Regions from separate parts of the Homo sapiens genome. Here region 1 is linked to region 2. The links are contacts of gene promoters, found by promoter capture Hi-C in human tissues and cell types (Jung and others, 2019). All regions are on one chromosome and are shown on one strand. Each heading gives the region's core, a stretch centred on a gene start or on the middle of the fragment in contact. The rest is flanking DNA. Distances are from core to core; before and after follow the strand shown.

What was found. Contacts are between HindIII fragments. The study calls those that stand out against the background at their distance.
Region 1: a fragment that was not itself captured here is called in contact with the fragment with the promoter of IMPA1 in region 2 in 1 of the 25 tissues and cell types used here (mesenchymal stem cells).

Annotation. Positions count from the first base shown.
Region 1 is chr8:79,826,110-79,832,964 of GRCh38, forward strand. All of the region lies in intron 2 of LOC101927040 (a long non-coding RNA gene), which reads right to left. Among named protein-coding and RNA genes, the nearest start is that of LINC01607, 61 kb to the left of the region's middle. The HindIII fragment of the contact is 3,269 bases long and covers 2,646-5,914 here.
Region 2 is chr8:81,684,094-81,691,309 of GRCh38, forward strand. It overlaps IMPA1 (inositol monophosphatase 1), which reads right to left and starts at 2,232. Exons shown (of 9, transcript NM_005536.4): 1 at 2,159-2,232. RefSeq lists an enhancer at 1,978-2,478. The HindIII fragment of the contact is 9,069 bases long and covers 1-7,122 here.

The DNA of each region.
Region 1 (6,855 bases), core at 3,030-5,529, 1.9 Mb before region 2:
CTCCATGTTGGTCAGGCTGGTCTCGAACTCCTGACCTCAGATGATCCGCCTGCCTCGTCCTCCTGAAGTGCTGGGATTACAGGGATGAGCCACCGCGCCCGGCCCTCCCTGCAGTTTTTCCACACACTCTTTTGGGTATCCACCTAATCTAGGGGAATCTAAAACAGCACCTAAATTCTCATCTCATCCAGATTCTAGTGGTCTCTTTTTTTCAGTCATGAGAAATCCAATGAAGTGGTGAGCTCCTAAGAATTCAAACATTGAGTCAGATCCCACAGTGTGAACTCTGTCTCTGCTCTGGGTGTCTCTGTCTGTTACGGGGGGGTGATCATTCATCCTACCAGGAATATCCTGGCAGGTTTCCTCAGGCCCAGGCATTGTACAAAACTCCAGAAGCTGCTCAGTCTGAGAAGCGGAGCGCTATGCAGAAAGCCCCCGGCATCGTCACAACATGGGACCTTTAGTGGGCAGTTGTTTGAGGTCATTTTCTCATCAGTAGCAGCAGGCTCAAAATGGATGTGCAATGCAAACCAGGAGACTAGGGAGCACCGAGCAGCCTCAGGGGTTGTTTTCTGCCTGGTTCAAGAGAAACTGCCGTAGAAATTTTTGCCGCCAGCCTGTTGTTGAGTGACAGGAAGAGAAAAAAGGATCATTTGAAGGCTCCCTGATTCAAATGGCGTATACAGAATGCCAGGCCCTGGCTGCCCTGGAGAAAGCCACTCTGGTGCCAGCTTAGGGAACAAATGTGTTCCCACTGTCTCCTGGAAAGGCTTTCCCCACCCCTGCTGAGGGGGTGGATTTCAAAGCAGCTGACTTCTTGCCCTTTTTAATAGGACTGCAAGTGTTCCCATTTTAATTCTAAAACTTTCTCCCAATTTTCCACTCCTCCAAGGCCTCCCAAGAAAAGCTGGTATTCTGGGTCACTGAAATGGCGTCAGGTTATTAAGCAGAGAAAGGGGATTAGAGGAACAGTTCCTAGCAGCAGCAGCGAACACAGTTACGGTATTGAGAGCTTGCGTTGCATGTTAATAAAATGCTATAAAACATCAAACCCTAAAGGTAGCAGTGAAAGCCACGTAAGTCCTTTCCGGAGTTTGCCTTCTGCAGCTGTGGATCTAAAAGTTCCCTGCCTTTCCTGTACTTTCATAATCACGCTTTTCCTCCTTTAGAGAGACACGCAGCCTCACTCCCAAACCATGGTGTGTTTTAAATGCTGACCACCCCATCTTTCCCTGGCACCATGGAGCGTTTCAGTCTAAAACCCTAGGGTCTGCGAATTCTGGCCAGTGCGCTGGGGAGAGGTAGTAGAGTAATTAAGTTAGCTGTTAGCTGCTGTGAGCGGACTTCGGTATTTCATCGCAGCTGCCTGCCTCTGTCTCCCCAGCCGCCCTCCCACATCTTCCTATGAGACCGGCTGTGTGTGTGAAGGAGGTGCTGTTTCCCACAGCTCTGATCTAATTCAGCTGAAATTCAATCTCCGTGTGACCAACCTCAGCCAGCGCTCTCCCACCCACCGCCGGCCTCCCCTCTGCAGGCTGTGTGTGCTGCCCATTTACACCATCAATCCCACAGCCTCCCCTCCACCAGCCCCTGGGTATAGACTTACGGTGTCAGCGGGCCAGCCTTGGGGGCTCGCCTGCTGCCCGGACGCTCACCCCTCATCCCCAGTACTCCGAGGTGAGACACTCTATACCTGCCACTCGGTGGCCTGAATGGGGCCTGTGAGTCATCGCAGGAGAAAGGGCAGTGGGGCCAGCTGAGGCTGAGAACCCAAAACAGATGTCAGAGACATCAGGCCACGTTTTCCATGGATCTTCAGTGCCCAGAAAGATTTATGACCTCTTTTAACCCCCTTTTAACGTGGGTTGAACTGGGCTTGTCTTATAGGGGGGAAACAAGTCTGGCAGTCATTCAGAAAGTCACCAGAGCGACAGGGCCTGCCCTGGGTCTGTGGACCCTTGCTTCCTTTCTTTGTCATCCCTCTCTTAAGCTCCATCCCTTAGCCTCTGTGTTTGGTGGGGACATTCCATCACAGACTCATCAGAGCTCTCCATCCCTTGACAGCCCAAAGCTGCTTGTGGCTTTGACCCTAAATGGTATTCAATTTGGGTTTGCATCTTCATACTGAACAAGGAAATAATAAGTATCTTTTAGAAGAGCAGAGATTGCAGAAGGCCAGCACTGGCCAGTGATGCAGGGCCCTGGCTTTTTTTTTTTTTTTTTTTTTTCTGGTCTAATTGTTGCCTAATCATGTTATCCTGGATCAGGCGCACTTTCTTTTGACTAAGAAAGCTTTGAACTTTGCTTTGCACTTCCTGCAAGAGGAGGATTTCTACCTCGGGGCAGAGAGGCACAGGAAGGCAGAGGTTTGCGGGTACCTTTTACAAGCCCTATGAAGCAAAAGGGAAGGGGTTTACAAAGGCATCATAATTAGAAATGATGTGTCAGGGCAGGCAGGCACCACCAGAATGTGACCCTGCCGGTCTCCTCCCAGGCTGCTGCAGGAACACGGGAAATTCAGCGTGGCTTCAGCACGGGCACTCAAGCCATTTTCCAATGCAAAGGATCCCAGTCTTCCAACCTTCCATTAGTTTTACTGCACAGATTGATAAGTGACAGGCAGGGTCACACCTTCATGCTTATTTTTTTTTAAGAGAATTATAATTTGCATGAAGAGATTCCTTTTTGCTAACAATCCACCCGCTCGCTTATCTTGATCTACAGATAAAAACAGGACAGTGGAGCTGGAAAGTGTTTCCCGCACCTCCCTCAGACTCCCAGACACTCAATTTGCATTCAGTCTCAGAGAGAGTTTAGAGCCTGCTGTGTCTCCTTTTTTTGGACAGTGGGTAGTTATGACCGGAATTAAAAGGAGAAAAGTCTCCAGCACTTAAAAAAATCAACCAACTTTTTTTATGAACTTCTGCTAACAGTTAGGCTGTGTCACGGAGGGAGGTGTCCTGGGAGGGAACCTCACCCCTCCCTAGAGAAGAGGAAGCTTCCCGCAGCCAACCTCAGAAATAATCGTCTCCCTGAGTCCTGAGAAAACTGCCCCAAATGTTAACACATCAATCTTAAGGAAACGAGCCTGGCTTTTACCGACTTAATTTCATATAATTATTTCAGAGTTTAAGTCTTTACAAGAAAGAGGGAGTGGAGGGAAAGGATCAGAAAATTGAAGGGGATGAACAGAAGAGGAATGAGATTCCTTTGTTTTGAAGATTCCCATTTCTCTCCCAGTGTGCAGGGCATCTTTATCTGTGCTTTCGTCTCTCAGGAGCAAATGCACAGCACACTCAACAGCATGTGGAGAAGCTTGGAAGGCGCTGATTTCGGCTCAAGTCCGTTTTTAAAGGACACTTTAATAAAGCATCCTCTTGTGTCTTGGATCTTAGAACACCAAATGTACAGTGAAATGAGGTCAGAAGACCTGTGTGCCAGTCCTGACTCCTGACCACTAAGTTATGATGTAGTTGGCACAAGTCATTAAGCTTCGGGGACTTTATTACATCTCTAAAATGGAGGTAATGAGACCTCCCCTGCCCCCCTCTGGGGGGTTATATATAGGAAAATAGGAAAACACTTTGAAAAGTTAAAAATGCTGCTATACAGTCAAAAGTTATTATTCTTACAATAATAAAGTTCATTATGAGTATTCTGTAAGTACATTTTTAAATTTAATTTTTTTACATAGAAACAGGTTCTCACTATGTTGCCCAAGCTGGTCTCAACCTCCTGAGCTCAAGCGATCCTCCTGCCTTGGCCTCCCAAATAGCTGGGATTACAGGCATGATCCATGATGCCCAGCCTGTAAGCAGTTTATTATCAGTATTCACATAAGAGCCAGCAGCATAGGATTTGTTAAGTAAGGAAAAAGCTCGGACACCATCTAGTCCAATCAGTTTTAAATGCATCCATTTAAAATGTAAATGACAAAGCCTCATCCTCCAGAAATATTGATTCCATAGGTATAGATTAGCCCAGAAATCTGGATTTTAGATCACCACCTTGGGATATTCAGAGATAGAATCCAACAACCTGACTTTGAGCAACGTTGTTTTGCAAAACGAGGACATTTCTCATTCTCCTACTCCCTGGCCATATCCTTCCTCCCACTGGGGCTGGGTGTGAGAATAGAGCACATTACTTTCACATCTCTTCATTAATATTTCAGAATCTACAATGTGAAGGACTGGGAAGAAACAAAGCAGAATCGGGGATTATGTTGATGGGTTTGGTTTCCCTTTAATGATGAGAAAAAATGCATGTCTGCTCTGAGCAGATGATAAATTGATCCAGAAAATGTTGCACAAGTGTTCTTTGCTAAGCTTCAGGGTCAAAGTCAACAATATAAAAGAAAATATACCTCCGTTTAGTTGAAAAGGACTTACGTTCAAGGCATTGCACAACAGGTCTGGTGTGGGTTACACTCTGTCAAATGGCCCTGTTCATTTATTCAGCTTTCCACAGATCTTTGCCAAAGAGGACAATGAGAGAAAGAGACAGATTTAGCTGTTGTGGTTGCAGTTTGTTTTTGCACCTGGTGGGTTTTTTTTTTAAATGACAATAGTTTGAGAATATCACGACAACATTTTTAAAGATAATGAAATCATTTGTATGTGAAGTTGGGATAATGAAATGACAAGCCTCTCATAAAAGGAATCTCCTTTTAGTAACCATTGCCTATACTTGCATTAAGTGAAAAAAAAAAAAAAAATGAACCGAGGAAGAACTTTCTAGAAAGATAGATAGCTCCTAGAAATCTGGGAGCTTTTCATCATTATTAAACTCATTTGTCTTGCAACTTTCTATTCCTAAAATGAGCAAAAAATTTAACAAAAGCAGTCTCTGGAAAACCAAAACAGAGAACTCATAACATATTCCATTTACTCATAGGAAACTCTCAGGTACCTCCTCAAACCTCTCTACACACAGTTCTAATGCACATCTGCATGCACACACGTGTAAGTGTGTGTCTATATTGGTCTTCTATGCTCACAGTAAACACTGAACATCAGAAAATTAGGGTAGAAGAATTTCTGGAAATAGGTGCATTGATAACCAGAGTGATTGGTCAATGGACTGATGAAAAGCAGGGAGACGAGAGTATATTTAAAAGTTTTCAAAATAACTTCAGAATCTGAAAATTTGGGACCCTTTATGTGCCCTATTGCATTGCAGCAGAGTAACAAAATCTTGTTCACTGTCATGATCCCAAGGCATCAAGAAAAAAATTAAATTTCATCCATTTTCTCTGTTTAAGAAGGTACTAAACAATGTATTTTGGAAAGATTTTCATCAAAAATGTTTAAAATTAAAAAGTCCATGCTGAAAGAGACAAATCCTTATGTTTCCAGAACTCTCATTTACTCAAAAATCTTTTTTCCCAAAGTTTCTGAATAAGCAAAGTTTGTCTAAGGAGCAAAGATTGGGAGAGAGGAGGAGTGGGAGGAGGAACAGCTGTTCTGAATTAAGAAGCATGTTAATGACAGCACAGGAGTCAGAAAGATGCTCGGGTTCGCCTGCTGGTCTAAGAGGCAATGTATTAAACTGTCTAATAAAAACAATTGTTCTAGGCCTGTGATAATGGACATGAGGAGAAAGATTTGGAAGACAGCATTGACGAATGAAGTATCTGTGGCATAAAACCACTCTCTCCTGCGCCCTCAGTCCAAGGCTGTTATCAGAAGTAGGTGACACTGCACAGGCACGGGGTGACGAGGGGCGTGCTGGAAATGGCCCAGTCTAACTCACTCACATTTTGGCTTCACAGGGAGCATTTTCTGAGAGGGTCGATCACCTGAACTGCAAATGGGCCAGGGCAGGAACAAGAGGGGAGAAAAGGGGATGCTTTCAACAGGAAGATTAATGATAAACACGAAATAGCATGATGACTGTGAAGGTTTCAGGCACCGGAGATGCTAAGAAAAAAGAAAACAGAAAGTCTTTTTATCTTTACAGTGGTTCCTATAAAGGGGTCAGCAGGTCGTGGTAGAAACTATCAGTTAATTATCTCTAGGTCAGCAGCATGCCTCTAGTCAGAGAGCCCAGCCCCCTTGCAAGGAGACCCTGAGCTCACTGATGCCGACCAGGAAAGGCCAGGGGTGGGGGGAGGAAACTTCTGAGCAGGAGACAGAAGCTGCACCAAGCCCCTCATCCTGCTTGCCTCTCACCCCTGAATCTACATCCCATAGACACTGAAAACGTTCCCCAAACCTGCCACTGACTAGGGAGCTCTGTCTGAATACAAATAGGACCGAGACTAAAGTGTCCCTATTTTAGAAATGGAGAGATACTCTAGGAACACAATCAGAATCAAAAACTGCTGTCTCCAGAGCCTAAACCTGACCTTGACTTCAGCCTTCACCTTCTCCCTGGCCACTTGACAAGACGTAGTCACATTTAGGACACGGAAAATATGTAAACCCTTCAAAAAGTTTTTAAATCCTGTGTCATGTCATCTAATTTGTGCTGTAGATAAGAAATATAAATACACATGCATTATTATGATTTTTTAAAAAGGCAGAAATCCTAGGTATCAACAACTTCCTAAACATAAATGACTCCTAAATCCAGCTCTTTCCTCAGCCCTGGACTTGGATTTCCAATTGCCCGCTGGAAATATCCACCTGGCTATCCCATAACTTGTAAACGATTTGTTTGTGAACAAATTCACTTTCTTGTAGACGCAGGTCTGTTGTCACCTTTTCTGTTTGTCAAGTTATCGAGACGAAGTAAGACTAACAGGATGAATAATCACAAACACATCTGTCCCATCTCACAACAGAAGTAAAGACTTGTATTGACTGGTTCTTAAGGACACGTAAAGGATTTAGAAGCTGATTCAAGGATGTG
Region 2 (7,216 bases), core at 982-3,481:
AAACTATATATATATATATATACACACACACACACATACACACATACACACACACACACACATACACACACATACACATATATAATACAGTAAATATACTTTATATACTATATATTTAGATACTATATATAGTATATATACCATACATAAGTATATTTAGATACTATATATAGTATACCATACATAAGTATATTTAGATACTATATATAGTATATATACCATACATAAGTATATTTAGATACTATATATAGTATATATACCATACATAAGTATATTTAGATACTATATATAGTATATATACCATACATATTTAGATACTATATATAGTATACTATACATAAGTATATTTAGATACTATATATAGTATACTACACACAGTATCTTTAGATACTACAGTATACTACACATAAGTATCTTTAGATACTATGTGTAGTATATATACTACACATAAGTATCTTTAGATACTAATGTGTAGTATATATACTACACATAAGTATCTTTAGATATATATATCTAGTATATATATACTACACATAAGTATATATACTACACATAAGTATATATACTACACATAAGTATATTTAGATACTATGTGGAGTATAAATACTACACATAAGTATATTTAGATACTATGTGGAGTATATATACTACACATAAGTATATTTAGATACTATGTGGAGTATATATACTACACATAAGTATATTTAGATACTATGTGGAGTATATATACTATACATAGTATCTATGTGTAGTATATATACTATACATAAGTATATTTAGATACTATGTATAGTATATATACTATACATAAGTATATTTAGATACTATGTATAGTATATATACTATACATAAGTATATTTAGATACTATGTATAGTATATATACTATACATAAGTATATTTAGATACTATATATACTATACGTAAGTATATTTAGATACTATATATAGTATATATACTATACATAAGTATATTTAGATATATATACTATAAATAAGTATATTTAGATACTATATATAGTATACATTAAGTATATTTAGATACTATATATAGTATATATACTATACATAAGTATATTTAGATACTATATATACTATACATAAGTATATTTAGATACTATATATACTATACATAAGTATATTTAGATACTATATATACTATACATAAGTATAGATACTATATATAGTATATATAGTATATATACTATACATAGTATATTTATGTACTATACATATAGTATATTTATATACTATATGTAAGTATATATGTAAGTATATTTATGTACTATATATAAGTATATATACCTAAGTATATTTAGGTACTATATATAAGTATGTATACCTAAGTATATTTCTGTACTATATATAAGTATATATACCTAAGTATATTTCTGTACTATATATAAGTATATATACGTAAGTATATTTCTGTACTATATATAAGTATATATACGTAAGTATATTTATGTACTATATATAAGTATACAGAAGTATATTTATGTACTATATATAAGTATATATACTATACATAAGTATATTTATGTACTATATATAAAGTATATAAGTACATTTTATATATATTTTTATATATAGTTATATATAATATATGAATAGTTATATATATATAAATCACAGTACATTTATTGATGGGCAGGGTCCGTAGTTTACTCACTTTCATTTTCCCAAAGCCATAAACACCTGAACTGTTTCCTGCTGTTTCTGTCCTGGTCACAGCCTTCCAGCGTAGGAGCCAGGCCACCTTCCTTTTTGCCACCTGTCCCAGCACCGCGACTGCGGGCAGCACAGGACCTGGGCGCTGCCCCATCACTTAGAGTGACTACCTGGGCCTGGGGATGCACCAAGTTTCTAGGAGCTTTTCGGAGTTGGGGACATAAAAAGGGGCAATTATTCCACAGAAGCCGCCACAGAGGTTAAGTGAGGTCGCGTGAGCGAACCGCTACTCCAATGCCGGAACTGTTCCCGGTCGCCCAGGGCAGCTCCGGATAACGCAGCAGGCAGGGGTCACCCAGAGGCTGCCTCCACCCTAGGCGCCGACCGCGCACGGCGCTCGCGCCCGCTCCTGAGGAGGGAAGGGGCCTCCCTGGAAACCCACAGCGCCCGCTGAACCCGGAGGGTGCGGTGAGGAAAATAACGGTCTCACCTTGAGTCGGAGGACGTCCGGCTAGCTCTGTGAACGGTGTTACCGCACTCGTCTCTTCCGGAGGTAGAGGGGCTACTCGCAACAGGAAGTTCCGCCCTTAAAAACTCCATTCCTGAGGGGGCGTGGTTGCTTTGCTGGGCCCCGCCCCGAGCTGCGCCCTGCGAGCCTCTGCCAGGCCGGGCCGGGTCCTGACCCGCGCTGGAGCATGGGATACTGCCTCTTCATTCTAGCTTCTGGTTCTTTTCTCCTGCTTGTCTTTTCATCTCTCAGTTTTTAAACATTACTTCTCTCTTTACTTTGCCTTTTTCTTCTTTCGTCCTCCATTCATTCACGGTTTCCCATTTAGCTTGCTTTCTTCTTTCTCCCATTTATTCTATAGTACTATTTTGACAAAACCCAGATTGCAGATATGATTCCGATTATGCAGCTTTTAGGTGCTAACCTAAAGCTGGTAAACCTATACTAGATTAAAAAAAAATAAACTGATAACCAGAACCAACTGCCCAATTCTTGATAATTTACTTACATACTATTTATTGAGGACTTACTATGCTTCAAGCAATTGTGTGGGGTTTTATTGTTTTGTTTTTTTGAGACGGAATTTCACTTTTGTCGCCCGGGCTGAAGTGCAATGGCGCGATCTCGGCTCACTGCAACGTCCGCCTCTTGGATTCAAGCGATTCTCATGCCTCAGCCTCCTGAGTAGCTGGGATTACAGACGCCTGCCACAACGCCCGGCTAATTTTTGTATCTTGTAGAGACGGGGTTTCACCATGTTGCTCAGGCTGGTCTCAAACTCCTGGACTCAAGTGATCCGCCTACCTCGGCCTCCCAAAGATTACAGGCATGAGCCACCACGCCTGGCCGAAATGTGTTTTTATATGCATTATTTTCCTTAAAGTTTTAACAGTTTCTTGAAAAAGGTATGATTAGCTTTGTCAGACAGATGAGGAAACTGAGGCTCAGAGTAGTTAAGTGATTTGTCCTCAGGTCACACAGCAAGAGCAGAGAGTGAAACACACTGAGTTCAAAGTTTTGGGGTTCAGAAAATGATACCCCACAATGAAGGCCTCAGAAGCAGCCTTAGAAGGAAAAATTTTCCTCTGACTCCTTTTGGTCTCCTGTCTCTGGTCCCACATTCTTCCCCAGACTAGTCATAGAAGCTAGAATTCCTCTTTCCCAAATCAGGTCCCAGAAATCAGGACCCCTTTTTTATAAAGCCAGCCATAAAACATAAAAATACTACTCTAGGCCAGGCAAGGTGGCTCACGCCTGTAATCCCACCACTTTGGGAGGCCAAGGCAGGCGGATCACGAGGTCAGGAGATCGAGACCGTCCTGGCTAACACGGTGAAGCCCCGTTTCTATTAAAAACACAAAAAAATTAGCCGGGTGTGGTGGCTGGCACCTGCAGTCCCAGCTACTCGGGAGGCTGAGGCAGGAGAATGGCATGAACCTGGGAGGTGGAGCTTCCAGTGAGTGGAGATCGCGCCACTGCACTCCAGCCTGGGCGACAGAGGGAGCCTCCGTCTCAAAAAAAAAATATATATATATAGAGAGAGAGATATAGATAGATAGATAGATAGATAGATAGATAGATAGATAGATAGATAGATAGATATTACTCTAGCATTCTCCCTGTGTTTCTATGTAAAATCTGACCACGAAGAAATTATATGACTCACCCTGTCTGAGTTTAGGTCATAAGACCCCCATTCCAAAGAGGGTCCTATGGAGAGAGGCCAAGAAGAATCTAAGCAGACAGGTCTTACTGGATTTCCCCAGTCTAATAGCATTAGGTTATACCCTCTTTGTCCAACCATATTCTACACAGCTGTCCATATGCTGTTGAAACTAAGCATAAAATGGACTGTCCCCTTATACCTTTGGGTCTTCATTCTGAAGGCTCCCAAGTCACATAAAACTATGATCAAATAAAATCCTTTTCTTCTATTTATCTGCCTTTTGTCAGTTGATTTTCACCAAACCTTCAGAGGACAAAAGGGAAGTTTTTTCTTTGGCCCTACAAAAGTTTACACACTGAGAATATATGGCACAATGAGATCACATTATATGAGGTACAAGGACTAGTTATGGTCTTAAAATGTTTCTTCTTCTTGAAAGAGTTGGCCAGGTGCAGTGGCTCATGCCTGTAATCCCATCACTTTGGGAGGCCAAGGCAGGCAGATCACCTGAGGTCAGAAGTTCAAGACCAGCCTGGTCAACATGGTGAAACTCTGTCTCTACTAAAAATACAAAAATTAGCCAGGCATGGTGGTGGGTGCCTGTAATCCCAGCTACGAGGGAGGCTGAGGCAGGAGAATCGTTTGAACCCCGGAGGTGGAGGTTGAAGTGAGCCGAGATAGCGCCATTGCACTCCAGCCTGGGTAACAAAAGTGAAACTCCATCTCAAAAAAGAAAGAAAGAAAGAAAGAAAGAAAGAGCGACATCGTGGTACATACACCATCATAGTGCAAAAAGCATTGCACAGATATAAGATGTCCTAGCTACAACTGGACCAGGAAAGTAAGTTAGTTATTTGGCTCTTTGCTTAGGAAGTTACTGTTTCTGTTTGTTTAATCAAAAGACAAAATGTCACCAATATATTTCAAATGAAATGTCTTAGAGATGAGTAATTTGGACTGGACTCAATTCTCACACCTCACAAGGACCAATAAACATCTTTAATCCAAAAAGAGTGATGCCTTAGGTATCCGGTTTGGATGTCTATCAAATGATACTTTATTTTCTTAGAAAAAAAAAAAAGGCTTCTGAGGCTAGTTTTTCGGTTCTTCATTGCCAATCTTCTTAAAATAAAAATATTGCCAACCGCATGCTGACAAGTGCTCATTCGTAACCAACTAATATTTCCAAAGTTTTAACAGAAAAGTCATCGGTCATCTAAGTTTATGTAAATGAATGTGGTTTCAGTGACTTGAAAAAACTGCTAAAATCAGCATAAACAATTTGAAGTAAAATAAACTAAATATCAAATATCCCTTCAAATGAAAACCTTACAAGCTTCCTATGTCAGGTGAGCAGGAAGTCCAGTTTTTCCAAGAGGCCTCACCTCAACAGCTACTTCACATTGGTTCTCAGGTAACTCACTCAGTATTTTTCAGTCCAAAGAGGCCGTTCTGCTTCCAAATGCCTTACCGAAAGTGAAGTGAAAATCTGCCGGTGCACAGGGAAGTCTTAGTGTTCAGGCTCGATTATAGTGGGGCTGGAAACTGGTCTCACAAATCCAAAGGATCTTTTCTCTGATGCTGTGAAGGTAGTTCACATGGCTGCAGAGACCTCAGTACAGGATGCATGGCCCTTGAGTTCCCAAAGGGGCATTTTTTAAAACTACAGTCCCATCTGCAGCCATTGTTCCCAAACCTAAGAATATCTGCTGTGCCCAGGTGGTTGTCGGGGGCAGGGGACAGCAGCACAAACTCTGCTTCCTGGCATGATGTCCAGCTCCTCACTCTTCCAACCTTCCCTAAGGGGAGTTCCCTCTTGGAGGCCTTTGGTATCCTTTCCTGTCAGCTGACTCCCATCTATGAGAGAGGTTGTAATTACGCTGAACCTCAGAATGAAAGAGAGGTGAGATCCAATGCCCCTGACACCTCCCCAGACAGCTGAGTGTACACAAGAGAGTTCTAGGGAAGGGTGGCCCTGTGAAGCCACAAAGTGGTCTGGTCATCCTTCCCAGTGGGCAATAGGTGCTTCCTTGTTCTGTATTTGTACAATAAAGAGGGGCCATAGGAATTCCTTCCCCAGAAATTGTGGGCATCTTGCCAACTACACTTAGTCTTTGGAGATGACTTCTTTTTAAATAACCACTCTCTTCACTAAAAAATAATTCAGGTTCCACATGCGAAGACGTTCTTGGTTATAATAATTATTTAAGTGGACTTTGATTTAAATGATCAAATATAAATACACCATGGCAGCTGTTCAGGGGTGGAGTGTCCAAGGATATCTAATAAGATCTCATGTTTGATATAACAGATTGGAGTTGCATATATTGGTTAAGACTTTGACATACCCTTATAAGGCCAACAGCTTTCCAAGATATAAAAATATATATCATAAAATTGTTATTCTTGGAAGAGTGTATCATAGAATCATCTCTTAAGAGCTGGAAAGAAACTTTTTTAAAAATTGGCATAACCATTCTATCTCTGGATCGTTATTCTATCTTATAGAATCGTGGCTGTGGAAAATAGTTGGTATGAACTCAACTGATTAGTCAGTCTGCTTTATGCCTCTCATTCTTATTTTTTTAAAAAGGAATAACTTGGGTCACCCCATCCCTATCCATATTTTTGGACAAGTTTTACTATGTAAAATCTGTCCTCCTTGATACATCTATTAAAGAAATAAAATATACTCCAAATTCCATCCATGCCCTTGCAACTGCTTTATAAGATCATTTAAATATGCATAATGTAACAAAAATAATAATAGGGCTTACCATGTGTCAGGCATTCTTATGAGGACCTTGCTCATATTAATTCACTTAATCCTCACAATAATACCACGAGGTAGGTACTACCATTATCGCCATTTTCAGCATGAATTTGGGCATAGAGAAATCAAGTAACTTGACCAAAATGTTCCCCAGCTGGTAAGATGATGGAGCTAGAAGTGCAGCCCAAGAGGTCAGGAGTTCAAGACCAGCCTGGCCAACATGGCGAAACCAGATACAAAAATACAAAAATCTCTACCCAAAATACAAAAATTAGCTGGGCATTGTGGCAGTCACCTGTAATCCCAGCTACTCAGGAGGCTGAGGCAGGAGAATTGCTTGAACCTGGAAGGCAGAAGTTGCAGTGAGTGGAGATCATGCCACTGTACTCCAGCCTGGGTAACAGAGTGAGCCTCCGTCCCCCCGCCCAAAAAAAAAAAAGAAAAAAAAAAAAAACAAGTCAGCCAGGCACGGTGGCTCAGGCCTGTAATCCCAGCACTTTGGGAGGCCGAGGTGGGCGGATCACCTGAGGTTGGGCGTTTGAGACCAGCCTGACCAACATGGAGAAACCCCATCTCTACTAAAAATACAAAATTAGCCGGG